Regions from separate parts of the Homo sapiens genome. Here regions 2, 3, 4, 5 and 6 are each linked to region 1. Evidence: promoter capture Hi-C in 16 types of primary human blood cells and fetal thymus (Javierre and others, 2016). All regions are on one chromosome and are shown on one strand. Each heading gives the region's core, a stretch centred on a gene start or on the middle of the fragment in contact. The rest is flanking DNA. Distances are from core to core; before and after follow the strand shown. Region 1 holds the start of TMEM179 (transmembrane protein 179). Region 2 overlaps TDRD9 (tudor domain containing 9). Region 3 overlaps TDRD9 (tudor domain containing 9). Region 4 overlaps TDRD9 (tudor domain containing 9). Region 5 has its middle 21 kb from the start of ASPG. Region 6 overlaps ASPG (asparaginase).

The links. Contacts are between HindIII fragments. The CHiCAGO score rates a contact against its expected background, and 5 or more counts as called.
Region 2: a fragment that was not itself captured here is called in contact with the fragment with the promoter of TMEM179 in region 1 in 1 of 17 cell types (endothelial precursors); the score reaches 5.3 in endothelial precursors.
Region 3: a fragment that was not itself captured here is called in contact with the fragment with the promoter of TMEM179 in region 1 in 5 of 17 cell types (total B cells, total CD4 T cells, activated CD4 T cells and 2 more); the score reaches 7.3 in total B cells.
Region 4: a contact is called between a fragment that was not itself captured here and the fragment with the promoter of TMEM179 in region 1, in 1 of 17 cell types (endothelial precursors). The highest score is 5.3, in endothelial precursors.
Region 5: a contact is called between a fragment that was not itself captured here and the fragment with the promoter of TMEM179 in region 1, in 10 of 17 cell types (endothelial precursors, naive CD8 T cells, total CD8 T cells and 7 more). The highest score is 10.8, in endothelial precursors.
Region 6: a fragment that was not itself captured here is called in contact with the fragment with the promoter of TMEM179 in region 1 in 12 of 17 cell types (M1 macrophages, non-activated CD4 T cells, naive CD8 T cells and 9 more); the score reaches 12.7 in M1 macrophages.

Annotation. Positions count from the first base shown.
Region 1 is chr14:104,602,825-104,607,236 of GRCh38, reverse strand. It overlaps TMEM179 (transmembrane protein 179), which reads left to right and starts at 2,465. Exons shown (of 4, transcript NM_001286389.2): 1 at 2,465-2,800. The coding sequence starts at 2,496. The HindIII fragment of the contact is 15,381 bases long and covers 1-4,412 here.
Region 2 is chr14:103,943,976-103,948,387 of GRCh38, reverse strand. The region is part of intron 1 of TDRD9 (tudor domain containing 9); the gene reads right to left. Among named protein-coding and RNA genes, the nearest start is that of RD3L, 3.7 kb to the right of the region's middle. The HindIII fragment of the contact is 831 bases long and covers 1,923-2,753 here.
Region 3 is chr14:104,015,915-104,020,326 of GRCh38, reverse strand. TDRD9 (tudor domain containing 9) reads right to left here. Exons shown (of 36, transcript NM_153046.3): 22 at 4,239-4,346; 23 at 2,135-2,235. Among named protein-coding and RNA genes, the nearest start is that of ASPG, 68 kb to the left of the region's middle. RefSeq lists an enhancer at 2,231-3,430. The HindIII fragment of the contact is 1,030 bases long and covers 1,501-2,530 here.
Region 4 is chr14:104,037,836-104,042,247 of GRCh38, reverse strand. TDRD9 (tudor domain containing 9) reads right to left here. Exons shown (of 36, transcript NM_153046.3): 33 at 1,914-2,052; 34 at 61-179. Among named protein-coding and RNA genes, the nearest start is that of ASPG, 46 kb to the left of the region's middle. The HindIII fragment of the contact is 1,272 bases long and covers 1,654-2,925 here.
Region 5 is chr14:104,062,930-104,067,341 of GRCh38, reverse strand. No RefSeq gene overlaps it. Among named protein-coding and RNA genes, the nearest start is that of ASPG, 21 kb to the left of the region's middle. The HindIII fragment of the contact is 171 bases long and covers 2,316-2,486 here.
Region 6 is chr14:104,086,989-104,091,400 of GRCh38, reverse strand. The region is part of intron 1 of ASPG (asparaginase); the gene reads right to left. Among named protein-coding and RNA genes, the nearest start is that of ASPG, 3.5 kb to the right of the region's middle. The HindIII fragment of the contact is 178 bases long and covers 2,466-2,643 here.

The DNA of each region.
Region 1 (4,412 bases), core at 1,216-3,715:
GTCTCCAAAATCACATGAGCCAGTTCTTTAAAATAAATCTCTCTCTTTCTCTCTTTCTCCATCTTATTGGTTCTGTTTCTCTGGAGAACCCTGACTAATACAAACAAGATAAGTCTTTGATTTTTGAAGGTAAGTGGAACTAATCACAGACATGCCAGAGTCTCGCACCTTTGACCTTTGAAAATGGCAGATATTTAATCATCTTTCCAGCCTAGTCTGCGGTTTCCAGTGCTGGCGGTTCCCTGTCAGTTGTCATGGTCTCCTTCATGTTGGCCAGAGTCTGGAAGTGTAACACCCCCAGATGTGTTCAAATTGGTCCAACTGCTGGATAATGAGTGGATGGAACTTCCACTCTTGCCCAAGTTAGGGGAGGGGGTGAATTTCCTGAGTGAGCTCCCTTTGGGGAGAATTGGGGATACTCCAAGAGTGGTAAAAACCCTGAGTGGATTCTCCAAGAGAAGAGTGGCCGTTGCTGACCTCGTGGCTGGCCTTCAAGGCCCGACTTTAAAGTGACTGCAAAATGAAATGCAATCCACAGAAGAGAAGAAGTTGCAAATGGTGGCAAGCGTAAGAAGATATGCTCAGCCTCATGATGCCAAAGCAAGTCCAAGTTCACACAGCAATGAGCGCATTCTGTGGAAACTGGCAGGATTTGCCTACAACTGCTGTTTCTCAGCCAGCGAGGGGAGGGGTCTACAACCCAGATGTGAGGGTAAATTTGAACAACATTTTAATTTTTTTATTTTTATTTTTATTTTTTTTGAGACCAAGTCTCGCTCTGTCGCCCAAGCTGGAGTGTAGTGGCGTGATCTCGGCTCACTGCAACCTCTGCCTCCCAGGTTCAAGCGATTCTCATGTCTCGCCCTCCCGAGTAGCTGGGACTACAGGCACCCGCCACCACACCCGGCTGATTTTTTTGTATTTTTAGTAGAGACGGGGTTTCACCATGTTAGCCAGGATGGTCTCGATCTCCTGACCTCGTGATCCACCCGCCTCGCCCTCCCAAAGTGCTGAGATTACAGGCGTGAGCCACCGCGCCCGGCTGAACAACATTTTTAAAGCCGGTTTGGCAATTTCTGTCAACATTTTAAATGTGCATACCCCATGACCCAGCAATTCCTCTTCTAAGAATTTCTCTTATAAAAATGCCTGTGCAAGAACGCAAACATATGTGTACAAGAATGTTCACATGACAGCATTTGAGACAGCAAAAACTGGAGACACAAAACATCCACCTTAAGAGGAATAGTTATGCAGATTGTGGAATCATCATTATAATGGAGTCTTATGCAGTTATTAAAAAGAACAAAATAGGTGTATGTGTAGGCAGGGAATAATCTCCTTGACATTTTGTTGAATAAAAGAATCAGCCTTCAGAAAACTATGTATGGTATGAAGCATTTTTGTTAATTCTGTGTGTGTGCTTATGTGCTTAGCAAAATGTCTAGAAAAATAGATGCCAGGCTATTGAAGTGGTCACCCCTGGTAGTGTGATGGGGTAGGGGAGGGGGATGAGGAGAAGGCTTTCTATTTTATTGTATACATATCTCTATTACTTGACTTAAGAAATGAGCATATATTACTTAGTCAATAAAACAAAAATATTTTTTAATGCTTGCAACAAAAATGCTGATGGAATTTTAAACCAGGAGGAGCAATGTTAAGGCTTCCTCACTCTGGGAATTGGACTAAAGGTGACTTAGTCTTAAAGGCAACTAGAAAAGGCATTAATTCTATTAATTAATGCCTCAGCGATTTCCATCTCAGCAAAGATGTCTTAATGAGGCGCTCGGGACACCCATTATTTATCTTACAAATGCAGCTCCAGGGTCCTGCCCATGTCAGGCAGTGTAACACACGTCCCCGCGGAGGGCTGGCGCTGCAGAAGCTCCCGGTCCACCCCCTCCTGCCCACACCTGGCCTCACCCTCCCCATCTCTTCGAGGATGACCTCTGTCCCAGTCCCTTGGACCCCGACTCCTCCACGATCTGGCCCCTCCCCTCATACATTGCATTTCGGGACCCCCGCAAAGGAATCACTTCAGCCTGGACTGCAAACCGCACTCCTACACCTCACTATGAGCACCTTGGGGGTGTCCTCCAACACCCCCCGCCCCGCCCTCTCTCTCCTGGTCTCCTTTCGTTCGAGCTGATGAGGAACTGACGACCCAGAGTCGGCCTGTGTGAGGCCCGTACAGGTGGCTCCCGAAGTCTTTAGCGGCACAGGGTCGGTCCCTCCAGGCCGACCTGGTAAAATTCCCGCATCTCCCGCAGGCCGCCCTTCTCTGGCCCCTGGACCCCGGGCTCCTGGCCCGCGCGCACCAGGAGCTGTCCGCGGTGCTGACCGCAGGCGCTTCCCGCGCTCGGCCGATGCGCACGCGTCCCGGGAGGGGCGCGCGGGACCTGCCGGCGCCGCCACTGCGCAGCCTCCCGCGGCCTCCCCGCCCGGCGCAGCCTCCCGCGGCCTTCCCGCCGCCGCTCTCGCCCGGGCCGGCCATGGCGCTCAACAATTTCCTTTTCGCTCAGTGCGCCTGCTACTTCTTGGCCTTCCTGTTCAGCTTCGTGGTGGTGGTCCCGCTGTCCGAGAACGGCCACGACTTCCGCGGCCGCTGCCTGCTCTTCACCGAGGGCATGTGGCTGAGCGCCAACCTCACGGTGCAGGAGCGCGAGCGCTTCACGGTGCAGGAGTGGGGCCCGCCGGCCGCCTGCCGCTTCAGCCTGCTCGCCAGCCTCCTGTCTCTGCTGCTGGCCGCCGCGCACGCCTGGCGCACGCTCTTCTTCCTCTGCAAGGGACACGAGGGGTAAGTGGGGGCCGCTCCCGGCGCGGCGCCCCTTCCATGCCCCCAGCGCCCCCAGACCCACCTCCCCGGGGAGGCGCGCGAGTCCCTCCGTCTCTCAGGCAGCTCCGAGGCCCGCAAATGTCAACAATCCGCCCTCACCCCCTCCACTCAGACCGCCCTTTGTCTACACACACATCCAGGGACCATGACGACCACCGGTCCTGCGTACAAGGCCAGTGCCTCCCCTCCCCAGCTGCGCATCACCTCCCGCTTCCGGGCATCTGCTCCCTTGGGTTGCAGATGTTGCACTGTCATCACCCAGCAGGCCTGGACCTTCCTGGGCGGGCTCAGCCGGGCCACACTCGCCAGGACCGGCGACAACTCCCAGCCCGGTCTAGGGCTTGCACTGAGCTCTCCAGGTCCCAGTGACAAGGCGAACTGGGGAGCCCCACCCGGCACCATCGCCCCGGGAAAGGGACGGCAGATGGCTGTCTGGAGGGGAGCCACCCAGGCCCACCTCGAGCTCAGGCCTTGGATGGGGAGCTGGAGAGAGACTGCAGGGCGAGGGCTGTGCCTTGTGGGCTCAGCGCCTTCCTCCTCCTGGCCTGCATTTTCCTCTTTCTCTTTCCTGCTCCGGCTAGATACTGGAGCCCATACAACCTGGTTCACCTGGGGTGCGGTGACACCCTTAGCCAGTGGCACCCTGGGGGCCCTCTGGGGGCCCACCCACTCCCTCTGCAGGTGCTCTCTGTGAACCCTCCCACTCCCTCTGTGAGCCCACCCACTCCCTCTGTGAACCCACCCTCTCCCTCTGTGGGTGCCCTCTGTGAGCCCATCTACCACCTCTGTGAATCCACCCACCCCCTCTGTGAACCCACCCACCCCCTCTGTGAGCCCACCCACCCCCTCTGTGAGCCCACCCACTCCCTCTGTGAACCCACCCACTCCCTCTGTGGGTGCCCTCTGTGGGCCCTCCCACTCCCCTGGCTGAGGCCTGCTGTGCCCAGGAGCAGCCCGAGATCCTGTAGAGGTTCCGGGAGAGCACTCATGAAACCCAGGCTCCTCCCAAACTCTGCCCTCACCCCCATCCTTTGTTGTAGGTTTTCACTTCCTGCACGCAGGTGGGAGATGAGAAGGGCTCAGAGGGGTGTGGGCGGCAGGAGTGGGGAAGCCCTCCTGTTGCCCCCGCTGTGAGCCCACCGCTTGGTTTTGGCTGAGAGAGGGGCCAGAGAGGGGAAGAAGAGGGGCTTCAGGGAGAAGGGAGGGAGCCAGGGCTATGCTGAGTGGGGCTGCAAACTCTGGAGGAGGAATGAGAATCCCAGCGCCTGTGGGTAGGAGCGCCCTGGGGCTGCTGCAGCACAGTTGCACCAACTGGACTGAAACCCACTTGTCCCACCACCCTCTGCCGCTGTCCTCACAGGGCGCCTTTGCTCTGCTCTGTCCTCCCTCTTTTTACAGGGACACCAGTCACTGGATTCAGGGCCCACTCTAAACTCAGGGAGATATCCTGAGATCCAGAGCTTAATTACACCTGCAAAGATGCTATTTCCAAACAAAGTCACAGTCACGGGTACCAGGGGTGGGACTTGGGCATATCTTTCGGGGGACACCATTCAACCCACGACACTAAGGT
Region 2 (4,412 bases), core at 1,089-3,588, 660 kb after region 1:
CAGTACACAGGGGTTCCAATTTCTCCACATCCTCACCAACTCCTGTTTTGCCAATTTTGAATCAACTTTTTTGCCGGGTGCAATGACTCATGCCTATACTCCCAGCACTTTGGGAGGTGAAGGTGGGAGGATCACTTGAAACCAGGAGTTCAAGACCAGCCTGAGCAACATAGTAAGACCCTGTCTCTACAAAAAATAAAAAAAAAAAATAGCAGGCACGCTGCTGCACACCTATAGTCCCAACTACTTGGAAGGCTGAGGCAGAAGGATCCCTTAAGCCTAGGAGGTCGAGACTGCAGTGAGCTATGATTGCACCACTGCACTCCAGCCTAGGCAACAGAGTGAGACCCTCCCTCTTAAAAAAATAAAAATCTGTTTTTTTCTTGTTGCATTTTGGGAAATCTCTATACATTCTATGTATTAATCCCTTTTCAGATACATGATTTGCAAATATTTCTCCATCTTGTGAGCTGCCTTTTTACTGTTCAGTTTTTTGATATACAAATCTTTCAAGTCCAATTTGTCTTTCTTCTTTTGTTGCCTGTGCCTTTGGTGTCATATCCAAGAAATTATTGCCACATACGATGTGAAGTTTGTGCCCTCAGTTTTCCCCTAAGGGTTTTGCAGTTTTAGGTCTTACTTTTGAGCTTTAATCCATTTCAACTTAATTTTTGTATATGGTGTAAAGTAGTAATCCAATTTCATTTTTTTGCCTGTGGATTTCCACTATTCTCAGCATCATTTGCTGAAAAGACTGTCCTGGCCAGGCACGGTGGCTCATGCCTGTAATCCCAGCACTTTGGGAGGCCAAGGCGGGTGGATCACGAGGTCAGGAGATCCAGACCATCTGGCAAACACGGTGAAACCCCATCTCTACTAAAAATACAAAAAAATTAGCCGGGCGTGGTGGCGGGCGCCTGTAGTCCCAGCTACTCGGGAGGCTAAGGCAGGAGAATGGCATGAACCTGGGGGACAGAGCTTGCAGTGAGTAGAAATCGCCACTGCACTTCAGCCTGGGCGACAGAGAGAGACTCCATCTAAAAAAACAAAAAAAAACAAAAAAACAAAAAAAACAAAACAAACAAACAAACAAAAAAAACAAACTGTCCTTTTCCCCTTAATTGGTGTTGGCACCCTTACTGAAAATTATTGACCATGTATGTGAGGGTTTATTTCTGGGCTCTCTACTCCATTGGTCTATGCGTCTTTATGCCAATACCATACTGTTTTGATGATTGTAGCTTTGTAGTAATTTAAAAATCAGGAAATGTGAGTCTTCCAGCTTTGTACTTCTTTTTCAAGATTGTTTTGACTATTCAGGGTTCCTTGACATTCCATATGAATTTCAGGATGGATTTTTCCATTTATGAAAAAAAAGTCATTAGGATTTTGGCAGAGATTGCATTGAATCTGTAGATCACATCGTGTAGTACTGACATTTTAACAATATTGTCTTCCAATCCATGAATAGAGGATGTATTTCCATTTACTTATGTTTTTAATTTCTTTCAGCAATGTTTTGCACTTCTCATTGTCCAGACTTTCACTTCTTTGGTTAATCCCTGAGTATTTTATTCTTTTTGATGCTATTACCAATAGAATAGTTTTGTAATTTCCTTTTTAGATTGTTCATTGTTAGGGTATAGAAATGAGACTGAATTTTGTGTGTTAACTTTGTAGACTGCTACTTTGCTGAATTCAATTATTAGTTCTGACAGGTTTTTGTGGAATCTTTAGGGGTTTCTACATATAAAATTATATCATCTGCAAACAGAGATAATGTTACTTCTTCCTTTGTAATTTGGATGCATTTTATTTCTTAATCTTCCTTGATTGCTCTGGCTAGAAATTCTAGTACTAAGTTAAGTAAAAGTGGTGAAAGGCGGCAACCTCACCTTGTTCCTGATCTTAGAGGAAAAGCTTTCAATCTTCCATTGAGTATGATGTTAGCTGTGGGCTTTTCACATATGGCTTTTATTATGCTAGTAGTTTCCTTCTATTTCTAGTTTGTTGAGAGTTTTTAATATGAACAACTCCACAGAAATGTACTTTTTACCTTAAGAAAAATGAATCAATAACCCAGAACTTTTAATTCAGTAGCAAAATGAATTAAAAACAGGTTGGGCACAGTGGCTCATGCCTATAATCCCAGCACACTGGGAGGCTGAGGTGGGAGGATTGCTTGTACCCAGGAGTTCAGGACCAGCCTGGGCAACATGGTGAGTGAGACCCAGTCTCCACCAAACATTTAAAAATTAGTCAGGCATGGTGGCACGTGCCTATAGTCCCAGCTACTTGAGAGGCTGAGGTGGGAGAATCTCTTGAGCCCAGGAGGCTGAGGCTGCAGTGAGCTATGACCATGCCACTGTACTCTAGCCTAGGTGAGCAATACCTTGTCTCAAAAAAAGAAAAAAAAAAACAGAAAGATATGAGTCTTCCCACAATGAAAAATCCTTCTTTGATTGCAATCAAGTGCTGTTGAATACTATATAAAGCAGCCCTGATTGTAATATATAAAAAGTTATGTCTGGCTCCTTAGCTTGCTTTTCAAGGTTCCAAAATTTTGTCTTTCTAAACTTTTCTTTTTATGTACTTCCTTACAGATCTTAAAATTTTACATAGACACACATATATTATGCATGATACGGTCCTATTTCATTTTAAGTCTTATAAAATTTAATACTTAGCTAACAAGGTGTAAACTAGAAAACTATGACAATGACCAAAAAGCAAAGGACCTAACAGCTTAAGCTTTATGTCGTCCACACAAAATATCCTAGGAAGTTTGCAATTCATCAGAAACAATTCATTTTTTCAACTCATTATAATGTAAGATAAATACAATCCAAGATACTTCCTTACCTTTGCTTACAAATATTTATGTTCTCTATCTACACAGCAGTAGAAGAAATACTGTAATCAGAGAATTATTTGGGTCTCTACTTCAATCTGATAATCTCAGGAGACAGGACAAAATAAAATCTGTAAGGCAAGTAGCACACACTAAGTACTAGAAAAATTGGTTTACACAATTAACTTCAAAGGAAGGTATACTCAATGTGAGTTAAGGTGGTAAGAAAAGTTCTGAAAAGGTCTTTGGTAATGGTTTCAATGGCAAGAAAGGTGTCAAACAAGTAAGTGGAGAAGGAAGATTGCCTTCAAGAAGCTCTTCCAGTGGCTAGCTCATTGATCTCTAAATCTCTGTTAAAAGGATACCTCCTACCCAAAAAGGTCTTCTCTGACCTCCAGTTCTAAGTGGGAGAAGTGTTCCAAGTATATTAATAGATTATGACCATCTATAATTACCTTACTGATTTGTGTACTTATATTTGTCTTCACATTTGGAGGCTGGCTCCTTGGGAGTAGGAACTAGGTCTTTCTTGTTCACTGCTACACCCCAGCCCCTAACTATTCAGGCCCTGGCAGACAGTCAATAGATATCTGTTAAGTGACTGAAAGCCAGCAATTACAGTAGAGGACACAGCAGGATCTAATTGGAAAGCATTAGGAAAAAGGGAAAAGAAGCCGGGCACGGTGGCTCACGCCTGTAATCCCAGCACTTTGGGAGGCCAAGACGAACAGATCACTTGAAGTCAGGAGTTCAAGACCAGCTGGCCAACATGGCAAAACCCCATCTCTACTAAAAATACAAAAATTAGCTGAGTGTGGTGGTGCACGCCTGTAATCCCAGCTACGAGGGAGGCTGAGGCACAAGAATCACTTGAACTCAGGAGGCAGAGGTTGCAGTGAGCCAAGATCACGCCACTGCACTCCAGCCTGGGCGACAGAGCAAGACTCCATCTCAAAAAAAAAAGGGTGGGGGGCGGGGTGGAGAGAGAACAGAAACACAGACCAAACCAGTCTTTCTATAAGTTTAACAGTGAAGATAAATAAAATCAGAGTTCAAAGGAAAAGAAGGGCCAAGGAAGATGTTCACATTGACCCTCAGGTTGAAGGAAAAAATCAGTTGGTATTTGAGCTGGTCCATGAAAAAGAGAATTACTATGTGGATACATGAAAAACACAAAGAAGCAGCTTTTCAGAAGAGAAAAAACAGTTGAACCAAAGCTGAAGGATCAGAAGTAAGCATGGCAAGCGTCAGGGGGCAACGTGGCCTGGCTGAAACAAAAGGTGTGCTCTAGGGTCGAGCAAGAAAGCAAGCCAGGTAAGGAGGGATAACGTAAGACTGTAGAGGGCCTTGAAGGAGGGATAATGTGAGACTGCAGAGGGCCTTGAACAGAAATTTGGCTTAAGTTCCATATCCAATATGTTCTGATATTTTTGTTACCATTTCAGAGGAAAAAAATTTATGCAGTAACAAGGAGGTTATTCAAAGGAGTATGCGGCAAGATTCGCTGTAATTTTAGTATAAAATTTGGTAGGACACTTCTGTCATCATAAACTTTACTCCT
Region 3 (4,412 bases), core at 766-3,265, 590 kb after region 1:
CACCATACTGGCTGCACATCTCAGTACCTCTGCTTTGGACTACTGCAAAGACTCCAGGCCGGCTTCTACTCCTCTTACCTTGACCTTCCGCTTATCCCTGAGTAAGTTCCATAAAACACAGTTCCGGACAGACCACTCAAAGGTCTCCAAGTGCCCACCTAGTCATGTTCACACTCATCAGTCTGCCAGAAGACTGTCTCAAAGTCAGCACCTGACCTCCACAAAACAGACTCCATCTGACACGGAGCAGCTCTGCCCAAACGGCTACCAGCTATGTGTGCACAGTCTCAGCTTTCCCCTGTCAAGATCAGCTAATGACTGCCTCCTGCTGGAAAACCACCTGACCCTACTGCACCACCTCTGCACTGGCCACTGCACCAGCCCGAGGCCTCACAACCCTCCGACGTCTACCCGAGGAAGTCTCAAATTAATGTTACTGCTCTAATATTGGGCCTCAGATAGAATGTCTTCTTCTGACCTTCTAGGCCTTTCCCATGACATCTCACAGCAGGCAAATGTCTGTGAAACTAATTTGACTCTCCACTCCTACCACGAAGTTGAAAGCTTCTTATGGGAGAACATGATATGCCCAGGTACCACCTGTGCCCATCTGCCCATGCGCCCTTGGCACCTCACAGAGTCTACATGAAGTCACCCCTGCTCTATGCCAAAAGAAATACACTTCTTATTCTTTCAATCACTGTAACTTCCTTTGCCTTTAAATACTTGAATCCCAAGAACTGGTACTGGTACAGAAAGAATACTGTTACTTCCCCCAAAAAATTGGTATGACATTTGTATTATGACTTGAGAGCTGGAAATATGAGGAATGCAAAAGATATAAACACCTATAAAAAAGGTCCCAGGCAATGGGAGGCGGAGGTTGCAGTGAGCCGAGATTGTGCCACTGCACTCCAGCCTGATGACAGAGCAAGACTCTGTCTCAAAAATAAATAAATAAAAATAATAAAACAAAAAAAAGTCCCAGGCAAGAAGAACAGGCAACAAACACAGAACCCAATCCAGTTGTAAAGAAGAGGGAACAAAGATGCTGCAATCTTCTGGGAGCCAAGCCTTCTGACCACTCAAATCAGTCAAAGGAGCATCCATGCAGAACTGGAAGCTCACCCAGGTAAGCAGACGCACACTATTCAGGAATGAGTTTAGCTGTGTGATTCCAGCTTTAAGTAAGTTACTTTATATATGTGACTAAGAATCTTACTATAATTTACATCAGAATATTTAAGAAAAGTTCAGACACTACAAGTTTAATTAATTCTCTAAGAGTTGTTCAAAGCACTTAGGAAGGTTTTGCTTATTAGGGAGTTGTGTGTTTGCCTCATGAAGCATTTACAGGCCTACAAAGAAAATCAATATATTAATCATAGAAATGGAACTTAAAATGCCGGAGGGAATTACCCCAAATTGAAAATGGACTTAATGTTCAACTTGAGTGAACTGGACATTAAAGAAAAAGTGTTTGTTCTTATTTACAAAGCTTTGTAAAGTTAAATAAAAATTTATACAACATTCACAGAACACTGGAAAAAATTTCTAACTTTAAAAATTAAAAATCCTACTTTAGGCTTTTTGGTACATAAACATTTCCTGTTAGAAATAAAAACTCAGTGATGCTCCAAAACACACATTTGTTCCTTACATGCAGTAAGTAGAGCCAAATTGAGTTTTTACAATGTTTGCCTTCCAAAAATATTCAAAACATATCTGCTTTAGACAACTATAAGCAGATACACTCTATTTTGGATCACCTTCATGGCCCACAAAATAACTCTTACTAATGACTCACTGAGAAAATCTCAGACCAGTGCGTGAAAGTGAAGATCACTTTAAGAGAATCCGCCTTAGCATCACACTGAGTTACTGAGCCTTCTTGGAGTGACCATGCTTGACCACTAACCAGCAGCTTAGTTCCTTTAGGAGGTCACTTAGCAGAAAGAGAAGACAAATTGCTTCTGACCATAAGATAAACCAAAGCTACATTCTGAAAGCCAATTGCAGCAGCCCATAGGAGGACCCATTTCCATGGGCACTCCGTTTTAACAATCAGCGTCTGGAAACATTTGAATCATTATGCCTCCTTCATAATTGCAGTTGATTACAAAAATATACTTACTTTGCACCATCAAATACAATGGATTTGACTTGACCACACTGTCTAAAGAGAGACTGTAGTTGTTTATAGTAAAGAAATCCATAGGGAGGAATGTGTTTCAACTGTAAAATATAACACAAAATCAGAGCAGATTACTAGAGCTAACAAAATAGTTTCAACATTCACAAGCTCAAAGCTGCTGCACACTGTTTTAGTTTCTAAAAACATAGTTTACTATCTTTAACCATAATATATAAACTCTACAGATCAGTGCATTTAAAGACTTTTAAATTCTAACTAAGTTCTATAATAAATATGTTAAATAAAGGCTAATTCTAACCCTGTTAAAATGGTGTAAGTCTAATACAGCAAAATTAAGATTTGTTTACTTCTGTTTTCCCTTAAAATAATCAAGCTTACTAAATACTTCTTTTCAAAACATATTTCTACATAAGGAATAATGGGAATGTAAACTTTAAAGGAAAATGTCTAACTAATGAGAGGAATATGTATTTCCTCATCACCACAGTGGAAAGACCAAATAGCACATGATCAAATTGGCAGTGACTTTTAATGTATAAACTCTCAAGGTACCATGCTGGGTTTCTGCAAAGCACTCCATACTTTCTTCTGGACCAGGACAACTCCTGTGCCAGCGCAGCTCTGCACGGGGCTCCGTGACAGAAGGCATGTAAGTGAAGGCATGGGCTGGGGCTCAGATCCAGTTAGATCCTGTCTCCTCACTCCCTGAATCCGCGTGTCTCCTTAGGCAAGTTACAGAGTTACCCTGAGACCCAACTGCCACATCATGAAATAAGAATGACATGAGAAATCCCCAACTCAAAGGGTGGAGTGAGGCTCAGAGAAGAATGAAAAGTACCTAACACACAGCCTCTCAAGTGCTAAGTAAAGCCAGCTATTATTGAGCTTTTATGATGTACACACTAGGTAATTTTGGGCCCCCAGACTAGGCTCTCTGTGGTCGAGGGATGCAGGCATAGCTACTAGACGTCTGAGGAAGAGACCTATAGAACCCTTCCTCTTGCGCACAGCTGAGGGAAGAAAACCACGAAGGGGCAGAGGGGTGAGAGAGGAAGCCAAGCAAAGAGCTTAGTCAAACCTGATGGCCAGCAGGAGCAGAGGTGCCAATCAAATGATCCTCAGTAGCTATAAAAAACTAATGACTTCCTTTTAAAGTCCCTTCCACGGGTATCAAGTGTATCTCAGCTGCCTCTCTCATCTCCAGAGCACCAGCTCCTTTTGGTGCTCATCAAAGACCTCCAGTTGTAATCTCAAGTCATCTGCGCCCTTTCCTTATGAGCTATTTATTTCTTCAGGACTAACAGTGGTGGTGTAACAATAACCAGGATAAAATCTGGCAATGACTGAGCCCTTACGATATGACACGAAGGAACTTCAAGCGCTTCTCACCCCGCCTTATCAGATACAGGCACATACTGGAACCAAGTGATCCAAAACAGTCCAGTCTCAGCTTTCTTCCAGTGTGAGTCTCCCTGCTGCTGGGCTTTAAACAACTGGGTTGCAAACGCTGATTCAATGGTCAGGGCCTGTGGCTGATCATTAGATATGCCCAAAGTACACACTACTTGAATGCTGATTTCTAGGGCATACTTTCTAGCTCAGATCTCGCAGAGCCTTCAGATCTGAATTTCAACGAATATAAATAAAATAAGCACTCTCCAGGTAGTTCTGTTGGGCATCCAGGTCGGGGGGTCACTGGCTTAAGCCACAGCACTCAGCTGCCAACCAATAACATTTTATTTTGTATGAAATGAAGTTGTGAATTAAGAAAATGTTCTTAAACTTGTAAGTGCCTTAAATCCTTCAAAATAGCACATGATCAAATCAGCATTGACCTTGAACGTATAAACTCTCAAGGCTTCCTTATAAGGCCAGGTCTGTAAAAGGAGGCAAGAGACTGAGGGACAAGTAGATACACATGAAAAGGCCAAACAAGCCTAGATACACCTGAAAAGGCCAAACAAGCCTAATATTCACGCCAGGGGAAAATTCACTTAGGACTCACAAGAATAGAAACAATTAGAGAACAAAAATGTTCTGCCCCACCACACCCCAGAGAGGACGGCCTGCCCCCAGCACCTACCACGACAGTTGTCTTGGGGTCCTTGCCAGCCAGCTCCCTCACCGCCATCTCCTCATCCGGCTGTCCAAAAGTAAAGTAATTTGGATAGAAAGCACCTGCCAATACAACCTGAAAAAGAAATTTATTTTCATGAAGTAACAGCATTATTTTATCAGTTATTCTCACCAATATACT
Region 4 (4,412 bases), core at 1,040-3,539, 560 kb after region 1:
TCAAGGCAGCTGAGAAAGTTGACTGGGAAGAAAAGAAGCCCGCGTCATCACACAGCTTACCCTAAAAGCTTCTGACGGGCAATGTCTTGAAGCTGCGCAACTCTCTCTGGCCCAAGACACTTGCATCCATTTGGTCCATCACAGACTAGCTTGTTAATAGCAGCCCTGAGAATATTAACCTGTAAATGAACAGCAACATAAACACTCATAAGGCTCCGTCGTAACTGAATTTCATCCCGTTAGAGAATTCATAGCATTCAGAGTTAGTATTCTCTGTCATCAGTATGGTTTATCCACTCGCCTGCTGAAGGCATCTTGACTGCTCCCAGTTTTTAGCAATTATGACTCAAGCTGCAATTGATATTCACATACAAGCTCTATGTGGATGCTAGTTTTCAAATCTCTTGAATAAATACCTACAGATGGGATTCCTGGGTCATATGGTAGATGCAGGCTTAACTTCATATGAAACTGTCTTCTAAAATAGTGGTACTAATCTGCATTCCCACCAGCAATGAACAAAAGGTCCCCGGTCCCCCTGCACCACCTCCTTGCCATTGCTGGTTACTGTCAGGTTTTGGATTTCAGCCATTCCAGTAAGTAGGTGGTGCTATCTCATGGAAGTCTCAATTTGCATTTTCCTAATGACATATGATGCTGAGCATCTTTTCATGGGTTTACTGTCATCCGTATTTTAATTCTGTTGCTTGTTTTCTTATAATTGAGTTTTAAGAGTGCCTTACATATTGTGGATACAAGTCCTTCATCAGATATGTAACCTGTAACTATTTTCTCCTGGTGTGCACTTTGTCTTTTCTTCCTCTGAAGAGGGTCTTTTGCGGAACAAAAGTTTTTAATTTTGATAAATTCAAACGTATCAATTTCCCCTTCACAGATTGTGCTTTGGGTGTTGTATTTATAAACTCATGCCACACCCAAAGTCACACAGATTTCCTGAATTTGCTTGTAGCACTTTAATAGTTTTACATTTTCCCATTAGGTCTATGGCTTAAGGAGTATTTTCAAGCCCATAAGCCCCTTCTTGTGACCAGGCAATTATGACTTAACAGTTGCAGAGACAACACTGATACCTGCCCCCGGAGCATCGGCAGCTGTCTCTGCAGCTCCTCCTTTCCCCCGGCCCTTCAGTGTGGTTATGTTAACCTCACCCGTCTCATGGAACTTCTAAGAAAGAAAGGCGACTGAGTACTTAGAAAGTAGCATTTCTCAAACTATTTGTGGTAAAGGATCAGTTTTGGTCTTCCCACTTTGTAAAATGCAATAAAAATAAATTACTATAACGATGAAAGATCTTTTTTAATGTACACAAATACGAGCCCACATTTCTATTATTAGATTCAAATGACATACAAATACTTTGTGTACTTGCTACACAGTTTCCCTGTCTGCCTTGCCACCTCACCCCAGAGCTAGTGCGGTGCCCAGACAATGCTGCAAGCAGCTCAGCTCTGCACTCACGCTGACCCAGCCCTCTGCTCAGCATGGTCACCAGGCCGGGAGAAGGGCAGAGGGGCAGGACCTTGTGTCCTCCTTTCCCAGTAAGAACTAGCAAGGATGTTCCACTTCCTGACTTGGAATGAGACCCACAGCAGCCCTACAGCCCCGTGGTTTAGCTGATTGCCCAGAAAAGCTTATGCCAGGAGACACCAAATGAGAGACTCAGAGAGCACCATCAGGAAGTTACTTTTCACAGGAAAGATACATCAAACTGGCAAGTTAAGGAGCGGTCCTCCTGGAGGGTGACTCCAGGAGGGACAAGGAACGTGCACATCTCCAGGACCAGAGGTGTGTGTCTGCACCGCGAGCTCCACAGCAGACCCTGCACTCACTGTCAGGTAAGCAAAACCAGAGAGAGACAGGGTTGTGGTGCCGTGATGCTGCACTACCCTTACCTCGACGACATCCTCCACGCTGAATTGAACGTCAAACGCAAGCTCCATGTCGTGCTCGGGCAGTATGGAAGCCCCTGTAGCTGGATTCCACCCCAAACCACAAAGGACTCCAGTATAGTACTTGCCATTCTGATCAATCCTAAATGGAATGTTTTCAGAAGAGTCCATTATTTCAGAATTGTTAAAGTATATGTTTTAGCATGTAAAAATTGACCGATAAAATTATCCTAAATTCTGCCAGCCCTAGTACAGCAATTAATTTCACTTGTGCATTTTTCTGCCAGTTTTCACAATCAAAATATAGTTATAAAATATAGTTATAAGAATAGTAAATTCAGTATTTTTATTAATACTTAATAATTTGTATTAATACTTTATTAAGTTTCTAATGTGGTAGATAAGATAATGAAAAGAATATTTTATCATGAATGGGTTTTTTTTTCCCTTGCCTTCGAATTCTTTCCATGGGTTAAATTCTTATTAGGGAGATTTCTGGAGAAAGGGCTATGTACATATTTATGACCTGTCAAACAAGTCTAGCACTTAGTAAAAGCCTAAAAAAATGTTCCACCTTCTCATCCTAAAACAATGGTGCACACTTACAAAGTTTTGTATCCCAGTTTTATCACCACCCTCCTCTGACCACTGGCACGTCCTGTCACCTTTATCACTCCCTAATAGCCTCTCCATGGCTGCGGCCAACAGCCTGGTCCAAGCCACTGCCATTTCTCACCTGGACTTGGTAACAACTTTCCGACCAATTCCCCATCTCTTACTCCTGCCTCTTCCAATCTTTTCTCCATATAGCACACAGGAGTAGCTTTTCAAAACAAATACAATGTTACTCCCTTGCCTAAGGCGTCTCAGTAGTTTCCAACCACACTGTGAATTACAGTGGGACCTAGAAGCCACAGTGGTCTAGCTGTGACTGTGACTACAGTAAAACTCACGCTGTGTGGCTTCTGCAGCTAGATTACAAAAGGTGACACAGGCCAGGTGATATGGTTAAGCTTTGTGTCTCCACCCAAATCTCATCCTAAATAATCCCCACGTGTCATGGGAGGGACCCTCTGGAAGGCAGTTAATCATGAGGGTGGTTAACCTCATGCTGTTCTCGTGATGGTGAGTGAATTCTCATGAAATCTCATGGTTTCGTAAGGGGCTTTTCTTTTCCCCCTTTTGCTCGGCACTTCTCCTTGCTGCCACCATGTGAAGAAGAACGTGTTTGCTTTCCCTTCCACCATGACTGTAAGTTTCCTGAAGCCTCCCTAGTCGTGCAGAACTGTGAGTCAATTAAACCTCTTTCCTTTATAATTTACCCAGTCTCGGGTATGTCTTTATTAGCAGTGTGAGAATGAACTAATATACTGGGCACGGTGGCTCACGCCTGTAATCCCAGCACTTTGGGAGGCTGAAGTGGGCAGATCACTTGAGGCCAAGAGTTTGAGACAAGCCTGGCCAACAGGGCGAAACCCCTTCTCTACTAAAAATACAAAAATTAGCCAGGTGTGGTGGTGCACACCTGTAATCTCAGCTACCTGGGAGGCAGAAGTGGGAGGATCACTTGGAGGCAGAGGTTGCAGTGAGCTGAGATGGCACCACTGCACTCCAGGCTGGGTGACAGAGTGAGACTCCAACTCAAAAAAACAAACAAAAAAACAGGGACAGCTGCCACCTGGCTCATTCTCAGGACCCTCAGCACCAACCCACCATGCTGAGGACACCCAAACTAGCCTACAGACAGATCACTTGTGGAAGTCCTCACTGAGAGCAACTGAGGTCTCTGGCAAGCAGCAACCACCAGATGTGAGCCTGGACACCCACCAGCCTCCAAATCCTTCAGCTGGAGGCCCCAACATTGGGAACACAACAAGCCATCCCTGTGTACCCTGACATAGTTCCTCACCCACAGAGGCAAAGAAGGTTGCTGTAGCCCACTGAAGTTTTGGGGTAGCTTGTTTTTAGCCACAGTAGCCAGAAAACCCAGTTAAACAGTGAGAGTCTTCTTTTAATCCACCCTCATTCAATTTTTTGTTTGTTTAATTTTTGTGGGTACATATAAGTGTAGATATTAATTTTTAGGTTTTAATTGATAGAACTTCTTGTTGTTGTTGTTTAAAGATCCCCCCACCCTCTCATGCCTGTTCAGAAGCACCATCTTCCCAGGGTTACAGCACTGCCCTCAACACGTGACTTAGCCTCTAAACCATGGCCAGCATTTGGCAGTCTCCCCAGTAGCAAAACCTGGCTCCAAGAACCAAGGGAAGGAGGTGAGTACAGTGTTCTTGTCACTACACCAATAAGAGCGTGTTCTCAGATGTCTGCTCCCATCCTGGAGGTGCCAGGCTCTGCTACCATGGAGCATTCTGCTCACCCAGGGAGGCGGGCTCCACAAGGTACACAATGATGATGCCACTGAATCCAGGCTGACACCATCAACTACTCCAACTGTTCAGGGAAAACACCTCGAGGACAGGGGCAGCAAGAGGAGTGACGCAC
Region 5 (4,412 bases), core at 1,152-3,651, 540 kb after region 1:
GAGACCAGTGGCATCATGTCCCTGCTCTAGAGATCTGTGGAACTTTGAACTTGAGAGAAATGATTTAGGGTATCTGGAAGAAATTTCTAAGCAGCAAAGCATTCAAGATGTGGCCTGGCTGCTTCTAAAAGCCTATACTCATTTTCATAAACAAAGAAATGACCTGAAACTAGAACTTACATTTAAAAGGGAAGCAGAGCATAAAAGTTTGGAAATTTTGCAGCCTCATTATGCAGCAAAAAAAATTTCCTGGGGAAAAAGTCAAGGCTGCAGAAATTTGCATAAGATGAGCCAAATGTTAATTAATAGCCAAGACAATGGGAAAAATGCCTCCAGGGCACTTCAGAGACCTTCACTGCCGCACCCCCCATCACAGGCCTGGAGGACTAGGAGGGAAAAATGGTTTTGTGGGCCAGATCCAGGGCCCCACTGCTCTGTGCAGCCTCAGGCCATGGCACCCTGTGTCCCCGACACTCTCAGCTCCAGCCATGGCTAAAAGGGGCCAAGGTACAGCTCTGGCCATTGCTTCAGAGGGTGCAAGCCCCAAGCTTTGGTGGGTTCCACGTGGTGTTGGGCATGTGGGTACGCAGAAGACAAGAGTTGAGGGTTGGGAGCCTCCACTTAGATTTCAGAGAATGTATGGGAACACCTGGATGTCCAGGCAGAAGTCAGCCTGGGCTCCCATGCAGCCTGTAGGTGCACAGAAGTCAAGAATTGAGGTTTGGGATCTTCTGTCTAGATTTCAGAGGATGTATGCAAATGCCTGCATGTCTAGGTAGAGGTGTGCTGCAGGGGTGAAGCCCTCACGGAGAACCTACTAGGGCAGTGCAAAGGGGAAATGTGGGGTTGGAGCCTCCAGACGCGGTCCCCACTGGGGCACTGCCCTAGTGGAGCTGTGAGAAGAGTGTCCCCATCTGCCAGAACCCAGAATGGTAGATCCACCAACAGTTTGCACCATGTGCCTGGACAAGCGACAGGCACTCAATGCCAGGCTGTGAAAGCAGCTGCAGGTGCTGTACCCTGCAGAGCCACAGAGGCAGAGCGGCCCAAGGCCTTGGGAACCCACCCTTTGCATCAGTATGGCCTGCATGTGAGACATGGAGTAAAAAGAATCAATCATTTTGGAGCTTTAGGAATTTAATGACTGACCTGCTGGGTTTCAGACCTGCATAGAGCCTGTAGCCCCTGTTTTGGCCAATTTCTCCCTTTTGGAATGGGAGCATTTAACCAATCCCTGTACTCACATTGCATCTTGGAAGCAACTAACTTGTTTTTTATTTTACAGGCTCATAGGTGGAAGAGATTCGCCTTGTCTCAGATGAGATTTTGGACTTGGACTTTTGAGTTAAAGTTGGAATGAGTTAAGACTTTGAAGGACTTTTGGGAAGGCATAATTGGTTTTGAAATGTGAGAAGGACATGGGATGTGAGAGGGGCCAGGGGCAGAATGATATGGTTTGGCTCTGTGTCCCCATCCAAATCTCATGTTGAATTGTAATCCCCAGTGTTGGGAGAGGGACCTGATGGGAAGTGATTGGATCATGGGGGCAGATTTCCCCCTTGCTGTTCTTGTGATAGTGAGTTCTTATAAGATCTGGTTGTTTAAAAGTGTGTAGCACCTCCCCCTTCACTCTCTCTCTCCTGCTCCTCCATGTGAAGAAGGTGCTTGCATCCCCTTTGCCCTTCTACCATGACTGTAAGTTTCCTGAGGCCTCCCCAGCCATGCTTTCTGTGCAGCTGGCAGAATTGAGTCAATTAAACCTCTTTTCTTAATTACCCAGTCTCAGGTAGTTCTTTATAGCAGTGCGAGAACAGACTAATACACCTGCCATTTCTGACAAAGTGTGAGTTTAAAACATTTTTTCTCTTTTTTTTTTTTTTTTTTTTGAGATGGAGTTTCACTCTTGTTGCTCAGGCTGGAGTGCAATGGCGTGTAATCTCGGCTCACCACAAGCTCTGCCTCCCAGGTTCAAGCGATTCTCCTGTCTCAGCCTCCCAAGTAGCTGGGATTACAGGTATGTGCCACCACACCCGGCTAATTTTGTATTTTTAATAGAGACAGGGTTTCTCCATGTTGGTCAGGCTGGTCTTGAACTCCTGGCCTCAGGTGATCCGCCCACTTAAGTTTAAAACATATTAATCAGCATTATACGAATGATGAATTTTCACTGAAAAAGTATTTTCTTAAATGAATTTCACCAAGTCAGTATACTTCTTTGCTCAATTTTCTAAACAAAGTAGTTTCTACTTTTTATATTTTCTTTTTAAAATTTCCTAAAAGATTTTTCATCAGGTTAATTATCTTCCAGACAAGCTTTGGGGAGGCAAGTTCTGCCTATGTGTTTTTTGGTGAGAGCATCTGTGTACGGATTATCTTTGGGAGCCATTATTTTCCTGGGTCAAATTTTACAAAGATGGCTGTTCTCTCCATTTTTAGACAGTAACCACTGTCACTGGCTGTGGTTTTAGGATTATTCCTGTCAAGCTTACTTTTCCCCAGATAAATTCTAACCGTTTTCAATGTCACCATTAAATGTAATTCTTCAGCTTTCTATAATACATGTTATCATTGTCTGCTGTATTTTGTGTTTTCTACCAACTGCGTTTACTAGGAATGATATCAACGACGGGGCTGTATCTACCTCCTGGGTAAGCCATAAGAGGGTTGCACCAAGTACCGAGGACAAGGTGGTGAAGTGCCCTTCAGCAGAGCTGAAGACAAGGAGACAAGCTGAGGCCCAGTGGACCACCTGCCTCCCACTCCCTTGGCAAAACAAAACCAACAAAAACACTAAACCTGCCAGTCAGTGCCTGGCAGGAGATGGGGTTCACTCTACAGAAAAACAATAAGCATACATAAAAAGAAGGAAATCTTGTCATTTGTGACACCATGGATGAATGTGGAGAACATTAAGTTGGATGAAATAGGCACAGAGAGACAAATCCTGCATGATCTCACTCACATGCGGAACCTACAACAGCTGATCTCATAGGCAGACAGAGTAGAATGGCGGTTACCAGAGCTTGGGCGGTTGCAGGGAGTCCAACGGGGAAAGATGTTGGTCAACAGATAATATATAATTACAAGGGGCGGGACGTCCAGAACAGGCATGTATATAGAGACAGAACAGGCAAAATACAAAGACAAAGCAGATAAGTGATTGCCTGGGGACAAGGGTGAGGCTGGGGCGGGGAAAGCGTGGAGTAGGGAGAAACTGGGATGACCTCAAATGGTTCCAGAGATTCTTTCTCGAGTGATGAAAATGCTCTAACGTTGATTGTGGAGATGGCTGCAGAACACTGTGAACATACTAAAATCACTGGACAGGACACTTTTAAATAGGTGAATTATATGGTATATGAATTATATCTCAATAAAGCTGTTTTTTTTTTTTTAAGAAGGAAAACAGTGTGAAGGATCTGGCTTCAAAAATACCAGGTTCTGCACCACTGAGTTCTTCTCACTGGCTAGTATTAATCTCTAAAGAAAGCTGTGGTACTCACTCTTCCACAACTTCACTGCTAAGTTATTACCACCACCAAGAAAAAGCATCCGGCCAAATAAAGAAATCAAACATCTTAGTGGTTCTGGACACTTCAGGAAGTCCCAGCACCCAGACCTCCACATACTCCCTTGTCTCCTGGCAGGGAAGGGTTTCTAAAGATGGACATCAAAAGACGAGAGGCAGGATTCTGTCCCCCACTGGAGTGACGGCGTACAGACTTTAGGGCAGCACACACCACGTGGCTGTGGTGTATAATCCTTCTAATGTGCTGTTGGATTTGGTTGCTAGCATTTTGCTAAGGATTTGTGAATTTACATTCATAAAAGTATCGGTTTGGCCGGACGCAGTGGCTCATGCCTGTAATCCCAGCAATTTCAGAGGCCAAAGCAGGTGGATCACAGATCAGGAGTTCAAGACCAGCCTGGCCAACATGGTGAAACCTCGTCTCTACTAAAAATACAAAAATTAGCTGGGTGTGGTGACACGTACCTGTAGTCCCAGCTACTCAGGAGGCCGAAGCAGAATTGCTTGAACCTGGGAGGCAGAGGTTGAAGTAAGCCAAGATCGTGCCACTGCACTCCAGCCTGGGCAACAGAGTAAGACTCTGTCTCAAAATATAAATATAAATATATATAAATGTATATTATATATATATATATATATATATATATATATATATATCGGTCTGTAGTTTTCTTGCAGTATCTTTGGCTTTGGTATCAGGGTAGTGCTGGCCTCACAGAATGTGTTAGGAAGTGTCCCTTCTGTTCATTTTTTGGAAGAGTTTGAGCAGGATTGGAGTTAATTCTTCTTTAATGTTTCACAGAACATTTGGTAGTGGGGCTGTCTGTTCCTGGACTTTGGTGGGAGGATTCTCACAGAATGGGAGAAAATATTTGTAAATCAC
Region 6 (4,412 bases), core at 1,305-3,804, 520 kb after region 1:
GGGAGGCGGAGCCCGCACATGTTTGTCTGCCCGTCTGCCCTCCGAGGCGCCCAGAGCACAGCCAGGACACGGGCTGCCGGAACAAAGGTCTGGATTCACCAGCCTTGTGAACCCCAAGGACCCAACCTCAGACCCTGGGCATCCAGGGGGCTCAGGGTCCACCCCACACCGGTGTCCAAGTGTCCCTGTCTCATGTATGGTGGGTTGAAAAAGCATCCTAGATGTCCGCATCCCAGGGCCGGGCGCAGTGCCTCAGGCCTGGAATCCCAGCACTTTGGGTGGCCGAGGTGTCAGATTGCTTGAGGTCTGGAATTCAAGACCAGCCTGGTCAACATGGTGAAACCCTGTCTTTACGAATAATACAAAAATTAACTGGTCATGATGGCAGGTGCCTGTAATCCCAGCTACTTGGGAGGTTGAGGCGGGAGAATCACTTGAATCTGGCAGGCGGAGGTTGCAGTGAGCCAAGATCGCACCACTGCACTCCAGCCTGGGTGACAGAATGAGACTGTCTCAAAAAATTAAATAAATACATAAAAATTAAAAAGATGTCCACATCCCAATCCCCGGTACCTGTGGGTGTCACTTCATATGGAAGTGTCTTTACGGATGTGATATTAGGGGTCATGGGGCGGGAGGTGGCCCTGGACAATCCAGGTGGGCCCTAAACGCCCTCTCGTGTTTCCTCACAGGTGGAAGGCCACAGGGCACGGGGAGGGGAAGGCCATATGACGACAGGGCAGAGCGGCCCTTGGAGATGCTGGCCTGGATGACTGGAGTGATGCGGCCACAAGCCAAGGATTGCAGCAGCCACCAGACACTGGAGGTGGCAGGGGTGGCTCCTCCCGCAGAGCGTCAGGACGGAGCGGTGCCCTGCAGCACCTTGGCTCAGCCCGGGGAAACCCCTCTCAGGCCTCGGCCTCCAGAACCCAGAACGAACTTCTGTGATGTTCAGCCGCCCGGCACAGTGGCCACAGGAAACAAAAAGTCACTCTCCACTCATCACGGCGGGTGAAGCTGGGGTGCCTTATGGGAAAGGTGGAGGGGGCATATCTGGTTTGGTTTTGTGGGACATGCTCACGTTGTGCAAGGTCACCTCCAGCTGCTGCTGACTCATGTGGGGGAACAGCTTCCAGAAACTTCCAGGAATGCTGCAGAGTGGTAGGCGTGGATATGGGCCCTGCTGTCCCTGCTGGGGGCATGTGTGGGCACCACAGGCGAAATCAGCCAAAGACAAGACTAAACTCTCTTGGTGTCCTCTTCTCTCAAGCAAAACACTCCATATGTGCTTTTGCAGTGGTTTTTATGGCTCACACCTGTAATCCCAGAATTTTGGGAGGCTGATGCAGGAAGATCATTTGAGCCCAGGAGTTCAAAACCAGCCTGGCCAATTTCTTTCTTTTTTCTTTTTCTTCTCCTTTCTTCCTTTTTTTTTTTTTTTTTTTTTTTTTTTGAGGCAGAGTCTCACTCTGTTGCCCAGGCTGGAGTACAGTGATGCCATCTCGACTCACTGCAACCTCCACCCACCCGGCTCAAGCAATTCTCCTGCCTTAGCCTCCCGAGTAGCCGGGATTACAGGCATGCACCACCACACCTAGCTAATTTTTTATTTTTAGTAGAGACGGGGTTTCGCCATGTTAGCAAGGCAAGTGAACCACCCGCCTTGGCCTCCCAAAGTGTTGGAATTACAGGCCTGAGCCACCATGTCTGGCCAAACGTTCCTTTTTCAAACCTATACTGTCGCCAGTAAAGTTTTCTTACCAACCTGCGAGTGGACCACTTTCCAACTCTGGGGCTCCAGCACTCACCCCGCAGTCAATGTGTTGTACGTCAGCAGCCATTCTAACAGGTATGTAGTGGCATCAGTTTTTTTTGTTTGTTTGAGACAGGGTCTCACTCTGTCACTCAGGCTGGAGTGCAGTGGCGAGATCTCGGCTCACTGCAACCTCCACCTCCTGGGTTCAAGCGATTCTCATGCCTCAGCCTCCCCAGTAGCTGGGACCACAGGCATCTGCCACCACATCTGGCTAATTTTTTTTTTGTATTTTTAGTAGAGACAGGGTTTCACCATGTTGTCCATGGCTGGTCTTGAACTCCCGATCTCAAGTGATCCACCCACCTCAGCCTCCCAAAGTGCTGGGATTACAGGTGTGAGCCACCGCGCCCAGTCAGCTGGGGCAATTTCTTTTGTTATTTTAAATAAACACCAGCTTTCAGCCGGGCACGGTGGCGGGCGCCTGTAGTCCCAGCTACTCGGGAGGCTGAGGCAGGAGAATGGTGTGAACCCGGGAGGCAGAGCTTGCAGTGAGCTGAGATCGCGCCACTGCACTCCAGTCTGGGCGACAGAGTGAGACTCCATCTCAAAAAAATAAAAATAAATAAAAAATAAACAAACACCGGCTTTCACACCTAACTATGATTTTGTAACTTGTATTACTTTTCTCAATGAGGGCCCTCCAAAAGCTTCAAGGGCTGCAGAATCTGAACCCTCCAGCCCTGCCTGGAACCTCTTCCTTGGCCCATCCAGGCAGGTGCCTGAGTTTGCTGGTGACTTGGAAACTCCTCAGCCCCCTGCCAAACACCTGGAAAGGAGGCTTTGCTCTCTAAGACAATGGGCCCCACTGTCACCAGCGAAGTCAAGCTTAGGCTTAGAAACTTGTGAACGTGTAGCACCCATTCAGGAAGGAGGTCCAGGCCAAGGGCACAGACGCCACTGCAGTAACCAAGAAGCCATGGGCATCACTCCACTGACACTCTCGACTGCTGGGACCCGTGTGGTCACCGGGCAGGGAGCTTCTCTCAGCTGCCTGGCCCCAGATCTCTGCCCTCCCTGCTGTGCCTGCAAGGAGCCGGGCTCAGGAGGGACTTTGGGACAGGCCGGCAAGCAGGTGGGGTTCCCAGTTTGACATAGGAAGTCTTCAAGTTTCTCGGGTGTACAGAACGTGGCCACTGATGCCAGCTTGGGCTTGGGGTTATCAGCCGTGTTTGGATTCGCTATGCCCCTTGACCTGTGATAGCTTCAATGAACTCAGAGAAGGGATGGGTCAAGGGGCGTCCCCACTGGCATCACCTCTGCCCTCCCTGAACTCTGGCAGGGCTCCAGGTGTGCAGCGTTCCACCCACAGGTCACTGTTTACCAGCAGGCGCAGAAGCCGTTCCAACAGCGACAATCAAACAGCTTTACTAGGGCAAAGCCACCACTCCCCTCTCACCTCCCCAGGGAAGGCCAGAGCCCACGTCAGCAGTGTGGAGGGAGTAAATCATTGACGCCTGACAGTCTGGCTGCTCCAACCTCACGAGGGGTTGGGGGAGCCCATTCCTGCAGGTTCCTGGAAGTGGATGCCCCACATGGGTCAGCTAGCAACAGCTGGGGGTGACCTCGCAGCCACACGAGGACGGGCTGCTGAGCAGAAGCCAGGACCCCAGTGCACAGAGCACCAAGGGATCTCAGAAGGCTGCTTCAGGTCTGAAGACTGACGCCCCACACCCAATTTCCAGCCTCCAAGTCTCTTGTTTCCCACCCAGACACAGGACCTCACAGCCTCTTTCAGAAATGCGGTGCACGCGTGTGAGTGCACCCACAGGCTGCTGCGGCGAGCACGCGGGGGCCAAGCGAGACGGGTGTGTGGTGGGGTTACAGAGTCCACCTGCCCCTGCAGCTCGGACCACTCAAGAACTACATGTTGAGCTCAACGAAACTGCAGTTGGCCACACTCCAAGCCTGAAGGGGTAGCGTCAGGGGCGTCGGACGAGGCCCCACACAGAGTCCCCAGGTCCTGTCCCCACTCGGGGGCAGCTCTGGCAGGCTCCGGCCCTGCTGGGCTCCCCACTCCTCTTTCCTGCACCTTGCAGGGCTGCTCCTGGCCTGGCCCTCTCCCATCTTTGTCCTGCAGGCCTTGTGTCCTCAGAGAAGCCCTCCCTGGGCTGCCTCCAAACTCCACACCATCCACACACCCAGCTCAGACCCTGTTATCAGCCCACAGCCCCTACAGGGCCCTGGCAGATCCTGCCCCTGGGACTAGCTCCTTAATGCATGCCATCCCTTCAATGGCAGCCTCTCTCTCTAGCTTGTGAGGGCCAAGCACAGGAATTGTGTCACTCTGTGTCAGTGGAGTGTCACACAGGGGCGTTTGCCAAGCTGTGAATGACTTTGTTCCATTCACAGGCAGAAGGAGAAGTGCAGAGGAGGCTCCCGGCAGCCTGGACAGCCACGTTCTTGGGGACCTGAGTCCCTCGTGGACGAGCCCCACTAGGCTTTGTCTCCTGGGCTGGGCGCAGAGTGGGCCTCCAGAGGGGTCTGCACCGGCCACAGTGTGGTGGGTGGAATCTGAGAGCACCGACAGAGTGCTGGTGGCTTCTGAGCAGCCACTTCAGCAGAAAGGGGTGGCCAGGAGGGGCAGCTGCCAGGGAAC